2 separate regions of the Homo sapiens genome follow, and region 1 is linked to region 2. Evidence: promoter capture Hi-C in human tissues and cell types (Jung and others, 2019). All regions are on one chromosome and are shown on one strand. The core of a region is centred on a gene start or on the middle of the fragment in contact, and the rest is flanking DNA. Distances in the headings are between cores, read along the strand shown. Region 1 overlaps ARID2 (AT-rich interaction domain 2). Region 2 holds the start of TWF1 (twinfilin actin binding protein 1).

Region 1 (3,703 bases), core at 691-3,190, 1.9 Mb after region 2:
TCAGAAATCTTATGTTTGTTTGCGTGAATCCATTTAAATTCATCAATGCTAAATTAAATGTGTTATGTTTTTACATAGTATATTTGATCCTCACAATTAATCATAATTTGGTTATTGAAAAAATCTTCCTAGTTCTGAGAATTGCTTGGAACATCCCTCCTTCTTTGGCCCCCTCTTTATAAACTATGGAGGTTAGCTTAAATGTGTGTGTTTGTGCAGGCACGTGTGTGTGTAAGCAGCACTCTTTAGAGTTTTAAGCAAACTGTTTGGTGATTTATTGATCAGTTCTTGCTCATAACCAGTCTTATAGGAATTTACCAAGCCTTACATATTTAAAGGGCTAAGTTGAAGTGGATATTAGCTATTGTATACAAACTTAATGTTTTGTAGAAGCCCAGTAGTATAGCTTTCAGCACCTGAAAATTTAGATTCCTAAAGACAGGAGCAAGAAGTGTGTAGTTAGCTATAATTGGATATGGCTACTGAATTTATTTATTGATTTGTAGTATCGTCAGTCTTAATACTAGAAAGGATTTTAAGAAGATGGTCTAGCCCTCTGCTTTCTGGAAGGGTAGAAATAAGGATACTTTTCCAGGTAGGCCTGCGTGGGGATAATTGACTTGCCTAAGATTATTACTACTGAATGATGGAAGGGAAAAGTAGAAACCAAATCAGATCTGCATTTATTACACTAACCACTCCATTCTGTTTTAAAAGGAATAATTTTAGAAGACTATCAGAGATTTCTTTGCTATATAAAACGGGGCCTTTATTTATTATTATTATTTTTGAGACAAAGTCTCACTATGTCACCCAGGCTAGAATGCAGTGGCGCAATCTCGGCTCACTGCAACCTCCACCTCCTGGGTTCAAGTGATTCTCATGTTTCAGTCTCCTGAGTAGGTGGGACTACAGGCACACAACAACATGCCTGGCTAATTTTTTTGTACGTTTAGTAGAGACAGGGTTTCGTCATTTGGCCAGGCTGTTCTCGAACTCCTGGCCTCAAGTGATCTGCCCGCCTTGGCCTCCCAAAGTGCTGGGATTACAGGCATGAGCCACTGCGCCTGGCCTGGTTTTATGTTAAGATGATTCTGCTGACTTATACTAAGAGAGAAAAAACACTTTTTACTGCAAATATTCTTTATATTAAATATTTTACTCGTAAAAACCTAAACTTACATATTTGATAAAGCTTATATATTTGATAGTTGTTTTTTTTTTTAAATAACCAAGGATACTCATTTAAAGGTTAGTCTAGTACATAATTTTTTAGATGGAGACCTCTACTGGAAGTATGAAGTAATAGATAGATTCTGGTTTGATTTTTTTTTTTTTTTCCTTTGGAGACAGGATCTTGCTCTGCCACCCAGGCTGGAGAATGAAGAGTAGTGGTGCAATCATGGTTCACTGCAGCCTCAACCTTCTTGGCTTAAGAGATCCTCCTACTTCAGCCTCCCTAGTAACTAGGACTACAGGTGTGTGCCACCATACCTGGCTGATGTGTAAAGATTTTGTAGAGACCAGGGCTTTCTGTGTTGCCCAGGATGGTTTCCAACTCCTGGCCTCAAGTGATCCTCCTGGCTTGGCCTCCCAAAGTGTTGGGATTGCAGACCTGAGCCACCCACCCAGCCTGATTCTATTACTGTAAATATCTAGACAAAGGGATGGTAGGGAGATATGTTTTAAAAACAGTCAATGTAACATATGCTAAAGTTTTTTTTTTAAGTATTTTTCTTATGAAACTTTAATAGTATACTTTTGGTTTATGATACCATGTTGAATCTTTTAAAAAGCAGACTATTAAGTTTATATTTTTTTAGCTAACATTTATTTAATTTGCCATGTGCCGGGCACTGCACCAAGTGGTAACTCATTTTCTCTTCACACCTCCCTATGACATAGATACTGTTAATATCCTGGTATTATAGATGAGAAAACAGGACAAAGGTGTTTAAGAACCTTGCCCAGGTTCACACAGTAAGTTCTGGATCTAGTATTTTTTTTTTGAGACGGAGTCTCGCTCTGTCACCCAGGCTGGAGTGCAGTGGCGCGATCGAGGCTCACTGCAAGCTCCGCCTTCCGGGTTCACGCCATTCTCCTGCCTCAGCCTCCCGAGTAGCTGGGACTACAGGCGCTCGCCACCATGCCCAGCTAATTTTTCTTTGTATTTTAGGTAGAGATGGGGTTTCACCGTGTTAGCCAGGATGTTCTCGAACTCCTGACCTTGTGATCCGCCCGCCTCAGCCTCCCAAAGTGTTGGGATTACAGGCGTGAGCCACCGTGCCCGGCTGGACCTAGTATTTAAACCTGGAATCTAGGCATATTATACTGTCTTCCCCCAATTCACATGAATATAATTTTATTAAAAAGTATTTGAAGATAAGGACTTCAAGGGAATAAAAATATGAAAATGGTTAGGGTAGTTGTGGGATTGTGGCTTTTTATTTTTATTTAAAAAATTCTTTAATGTATCTTTTTGTAATAACGTGTGTGTTGCTGTACAGTTTATAGTTTATTTTTACAAATATTTATCTCAGTGGATTTTTGCAACAACTCTAGGAAATAGGTATTATCCTCTTGTAGATCAGGGAAAAAGCCTGTAAGTACCATTGCTAGTGCAGAATTAGAGTTTAGTTTTGTGAGTTATAGTGTACTGCTCCTAGTTTACTATCAGAGTCTTGGGGTCAAGGATTTTTTTTTTTTAATGGCAATGCACTTTTTGGCATCTGATACATTGTAGCTGAACTGAATTAGGATCTCCTGTCACTTGGGGAGCTTCTTATGAACTCAGGTGGGTATGGTAGGCCTCTCAGCAAGTGGGAAATCTAATTTGGGAAATTCTGAAAGAATTGAAAATTTCTAACTTACAGAATTAATAGTATAGCATTTCATTCGTCTGTCCCTAAAGCTTAACATTTTTTTGTGTGGTTTTATTAAACAAGCATCAAGAGTCAGTTGTAGTTGTAGAATATTAATTAACATTGTGGTAAATGTGTCATTTTGTGCAATTCTATGCAGTACTTGAAGTTGTTTTTAAGTAAAATAGACACTAATGTCTCCCTATCTGTCTTCACAAGCTACAATATGAGACTAGAGAGTCTTGTGTAGGGTAAGATTTGAGAGAGTAATACAGACATGCCTGAGAGATGCTGTGGGTTTGATTCCAGACCACCACATTAATATATATGATAGTAAAATGAGAGTGAATTTTTTGGTTTCCCAGTGCACAGACAAGTTATGTTTATATTATACTGTAGTATATTAATTGTTCAGTAGCATTATGTCTCAAATAACAATGTACGGCCAGGTGTGGTGGCTCAACGCCTGTAGGCCCAGCACTTTGTGAGGCTGAGGCAGGAGGATTGCTTGAGGCCAGGAGTTTGAGACAACCTAGGCAGTCTCAAGCTGCCTAGTGAGTTTGAGACGTAGTGAGACCCTGTCTCTACAAAAGAAAATGTTTTAAGTAGCTGGTTATGATGGTGCATATCTGTGGTCCCAGATACTTGGGAGGCTGAGGTGGAAGGATTGCTTGAGCCTGGGAGGTTGAGGCTGCAGTGAGCCATGATTGTGCCACTGGACTCCATCTAGCCTGGACAATAGAATGATACCTTGTCTCAAAAAAAAGAAAACAAAAATACTTTATTGCTGAAAAGTGCTGACAATCATCTGAGTTTTCAGTGAGTCATAATCTTTTTACTGG
Region 2 (4,267 bases), core at 570-3,069:
TTTCAATAGATATTTTCAGAAGTCTGTACTTTCCATTTCTGGCTCTGGCAAAGATCTCTTTAACATCTTCACTTGCTGTGGAAAAAGATAAAGAAAGTAAACTTTTTATACTTACATATAAATACTTTCCTATCTATATTGGAAAAGTTAATTAGAATACAAAGAAAAAATCTGGAGCATGTAGCATCCTTATTATCAGTATTATAAAACTTTACCGCATAAAATAACGAAGACTGTATACAATTAAGAAATATAAATATTAGCATTTTAAAAGTATGTTAATAATTCTAATCTGTTTTAGCTACATAATTCTGTGCAGAAATAACACTGGGGTGAATATACTGAAGTTACTCAAACCCAATAATGAGCAAATTACAATTTTGAAAAACTTTTCTTGCTCTTTTGAAAAATATTGAAAACCTGCTTTCATTCTCTAATTCAGTTTCAAGCTTATGACAGACACTCCTTCATCAATTCACTTTCTGTATTTTCCCGTTAAAAACAACAGTATATATCAAATATCCTAACTTGTTTAAAGAAAAAGACAATAAAATGCATTCAGTCTTAACTCTGGTTATATTTTTCTAACTTGCATTTCTCAAAAGCTAGATTAAACTCATTGAATAAATATGTATTTAATAACTAACCCTTGTGTTCCTATTAAAGCTTCAATTTCGTTCTAATTTCGTTCCTGTGTTGTCTATTAGCAGCAAGAACCACTATGTAAGTAGGTAGTGCTTGCTATAAGGCTCAAGCATGAGAGTCAATAACTACATATTTATATATCGAAATTAATGCGGATAAATAAAACAAAGTTTTCAGATTTGAGACTATTTTGCTTCTGCGTGCGTGCAGGGGGATGTGTGCGGTGGTGTCAAAAATCTTTACGAATAAAACATACAATTAAGTGTTCATCTGGGAGAAAGACTCGCTATTAACAGTAAGAGCTTGAGTTTACACTAGAACTCGTTAAGTGATCGCGAGTAACCCGGGGATATATTATTTGACTCTTGATGAGGTGAGTACCTGCAGGCTGCCCAATTTCAAACCAGGAAATAATGGAGGTCAGATATAACTGCATATTGAACTGTCTGCACGCATTACATGCAACCATACAGATCAGTTTCCCTTGGGGAGTATCTAGGAAAAAGATCAAAACACACGCTTACACTCGAGATTTCTCAGAACATAACTCTCATTTTCCTATTTGGAGAGAAAATGCGGGAGAGTTTTGGGAAGCACCCCTACTGATGTGAGAAAGATTCTGGCATGGTTCTTTTTGTAATCAAAGTCCTGTAATATTCTCCTTTGGACCATGAAAAAGAAAACTCGCCTGGTTCTCGACAGCGTACTGAAGCCCCAGTCGCCTCCACTGTCCCAGCTCTTCCCTACGTGACCAAAAGGGGGAAAGTTGGGCGACTGTCGGGGACGGTGGAAGGCACGCCCCCTTCAACCAGGCCGCCTCGAAAGCCAATTTCCTTCGCTCCCCCGAATTTCGGATCAATCTGCAACGTGACGGCAGCAGGGACCGGGCTGGAGGAGGACGCAGGCCGGCAGCGCCCGGGAAGCAGGAGCGCGGAGAGGCGCCGAGGCCCGGCTCGCCCCGCGAGACCGACTTCCGGAGCTCCCGGCCCGACTCCAGCCCTGCCGGTCCTGCAGCCCTCCCGGCTCTCCCGGCTCTCCCGGAAGCCCCTTCCCTGCGAGTCGCGCCGGGCGCTGTTACCTTGGATGCCGGTCTGGTGGGACATGGCGGCGGCCGCTAGCTCCCGGCTCCGGCGCTGAGTGCAGCCAGCGGCCCCGGCCGGCGGCCCCAGGAAGTGGCTGCTCCTCCGCCGGCCCCGGCGCGTCATCCGCCCGCGACCCGCGGCCGCCCCGCCCCGTGAGGTTGACTGAGTGCCCGAGCGTCCCCGCCGCCCCGCCGCCCTTCCTGGCCGCCGGGCTGCGGTCCAGCCCCCGGCCTCGCTATCCTAGTTCTCTGCTTGGGGTCCTGCTTCTGCTCTTGCCGCCGCCTCTCCCGCTTCTTCCGGGGGGGACATGCCGCAGAATCTAGACTGCTCAGTGCTCCGACGTCTGCTCTCTGACAACCCCGCCGACGCCGCCATTCGCTGCCTCAGCAAAGGGGTGCTCAAAAACGGAAGTGATCATTTTACCAAATAGGCATTTTCCAGCTTAAAAAAGATGTGCACATTATTTTTCTTGGTTTACTCTTCCTATAATCGATACCGTTTAGTGTAGAAAAGCCTTCTCCTTGCTCCATTGTTTTGAAAGAATTAATATAGACTGCCTCTCATCAAATTTTTCCACGATTTTAAATTAAGTTAATCTCAGACTGTTAACTTTTCTTTTCAGCTGGACACATTTAGAGACTCAGTGTATCTTTCTCTTCACTCCGGAAAGAGACAGCCACTAAGAGATTAGCTGATTTGAGTATCCCTCTGTGGTCGATTATACCATTGCAAATCCTGCTCTGCTTTAGGTTGGCAGTTTATTATTTAATCCAGTAATTATTCAAAATTCACTTGGACAGATTTGTAAGGTAGCAGCAGATATTACTTAAAAATCTTTTCCTTTCCTGCTTTTACAAACATGTAGTTCCTTCCTGAAAGGTAATGTTAGTTTTGTGGGGGGTTTGGTTTTTTTTTGGTACTGCTTCTCTACTGCTACTAGGTGGGAAGCTAGTTCTTATTTTTAGGGCCTTGAAGTGACACATACACAAAATTATAATCTGCTAATGAAGAAATAATTTATTCAGGTCAATAATATAAGTGCAAGTTAATCACTGTTCCAGTACTATACGATGTATTTTTCATGAGTGATGAACAGGCCTGCAATTGTTTTTCTTTACAAGAATCACAGCAAACAAGGTTATGTTCTATTGCCTGTTATCTGAGCTCTGTTTTTCAGACATATTCTCATATTCAGGAATAAACTAAATCTGAGTTTTATGACTTGTATGGATTTAAGAAATGTAGGGAGGAGTTTCATTCTAATCAAATTCTTCCTGACACAATGGTTCACCCTGATTTACCAGTTTTTGACTACATTGCTGAGCAGAGAGAAAATTGCAGAGTTGACTTGCAGTATTTTGACTGATTCATGTCCTAGTGCTTCGGGGAAATTGCTTAAGGAAGTTGGCGTTGCTCAAAAGTATAGTTGAGCAAAATATAATCCTTCCATATTCGTGCTTGGGAAAGGCCACTGTATTCTCAGTCCTGAAGAAGAGGAATGTCTAGTTAGGTTGGGACCACCCTGACAGCCACCAGAAAGTGCTTATTTACTGCCAGTACAATAGTTTGACTTAAAAGCTGCAAGCGTCTTGGGTACCTTGCTCTGCTCTAGCCACAAATATTTTCCCACTTTTCTTCATCTATTGTGTCTCCATTTAGTGAACATTTGCCAGAGCTGTCATGAGAATAATACCTTAGATTTGTATGGTAGTTTACAGTTTACAAATAATATATAATAGACTTATTTTGAGTACCAACATCCTGTGTGACGAGCTGAAAAAAATAGCAGGTTTTGTTTTTTAACTTTAAGAGGTTTGGAAATTGAACCACAGAGTTGGGAAGTCAGCAGGTTTCAAGGCTAAGACAAGTGTCTGTAAGAAACAAACCATTTGAAAACAATGTATGCAGATAAGAGGGTTTATTATAAGGATATTGGAGGATCTTATAGATCTTGACAACTTGGTTGTCACCTCTGCTTTTCTCTTCTTTTTCTCCAAATAAGATCTCTCTGCTTGTGCAGTCAAAATGGCTGAATATGGCTACCCTACACTTTCCAAATTGACAGGGTTGTAGCTGCATGCAGAGATTACATAGCTCTTCTAAGTCCAAGTTTAAAGTTCCTAAGAGAAAGCACGTGAATGACCCTGCTTGGCTTGTGTCAAATCATTCTTGGCCAAGGTGGCTGGTTTACCCAATATACACTGCCCATGAGTGAAAGGCAATTATCACAGGAGGGGAGATGGATCTTGGGTGTGGGAAACAGGTGTAGAATTCCTACTTTTTACAGTTTGGTAGAGGTAATGTTTAGAACCTAAGATGGTGGTCACAAAACACAAATGCTTATGGGGTCAGTTAAATAACATAAATGAATGAAGCTAATAAATGGAGACTGTGGCAATGAGAGGGAGCACAGGATCCATCTAAAATGAGCTACTACTAGGCCAAGTGGGATGGCTGACACCTGTAGTCCCAGCTCTCAGGAGGCTGATGTGGGAGGATCACTTGAGTCCAGGAGGTAGAGGCTGCAATGAGCCATGATC

Evidence for each region. Contacts are between HindIII fragments. The study calls those that stand out against the background at their distance.
Region 1: a fragment that was not itself captured here is called in contact with the fragment with the promoter of TWF1 in region 2 in 1 of the 25 tissues and cell types used here (dorsolateral prefrontal cortex).

Annotation. Positions count from the first base shown.
Region 1 is chr12:45,744,776-45,748,478 of GRCh38, forward strand. All of the region lies in intron 3 of ARID2 (AT-rich interaction domain 2), which reads left to right. Among named protein-coding and RNA genes, the nearest start is that of ARID2, 17 kb to the left of the region's middle. The HindIII fragment of the contact is 3,797 bases long and covers 43-3,703 here.
Region 2 is chr12:43,804,498-43,808,764 of GRCh38, forward strand. TWF1 (twinfilin actin binding protein 1) reads right to left here and starts at 1,820. Exons shown (of 9, transcript NM_002822.5): 1 at 1,724-1,820; 2 at 1-75. The coding sequence starts at 1,748. It also overlaps a transcript of TMEM117 not described here. RefSeq lists a silencer at 1,516-1,995. The HindIII fragment of the contact is 9,263 bases long and covers 1-4,267 here.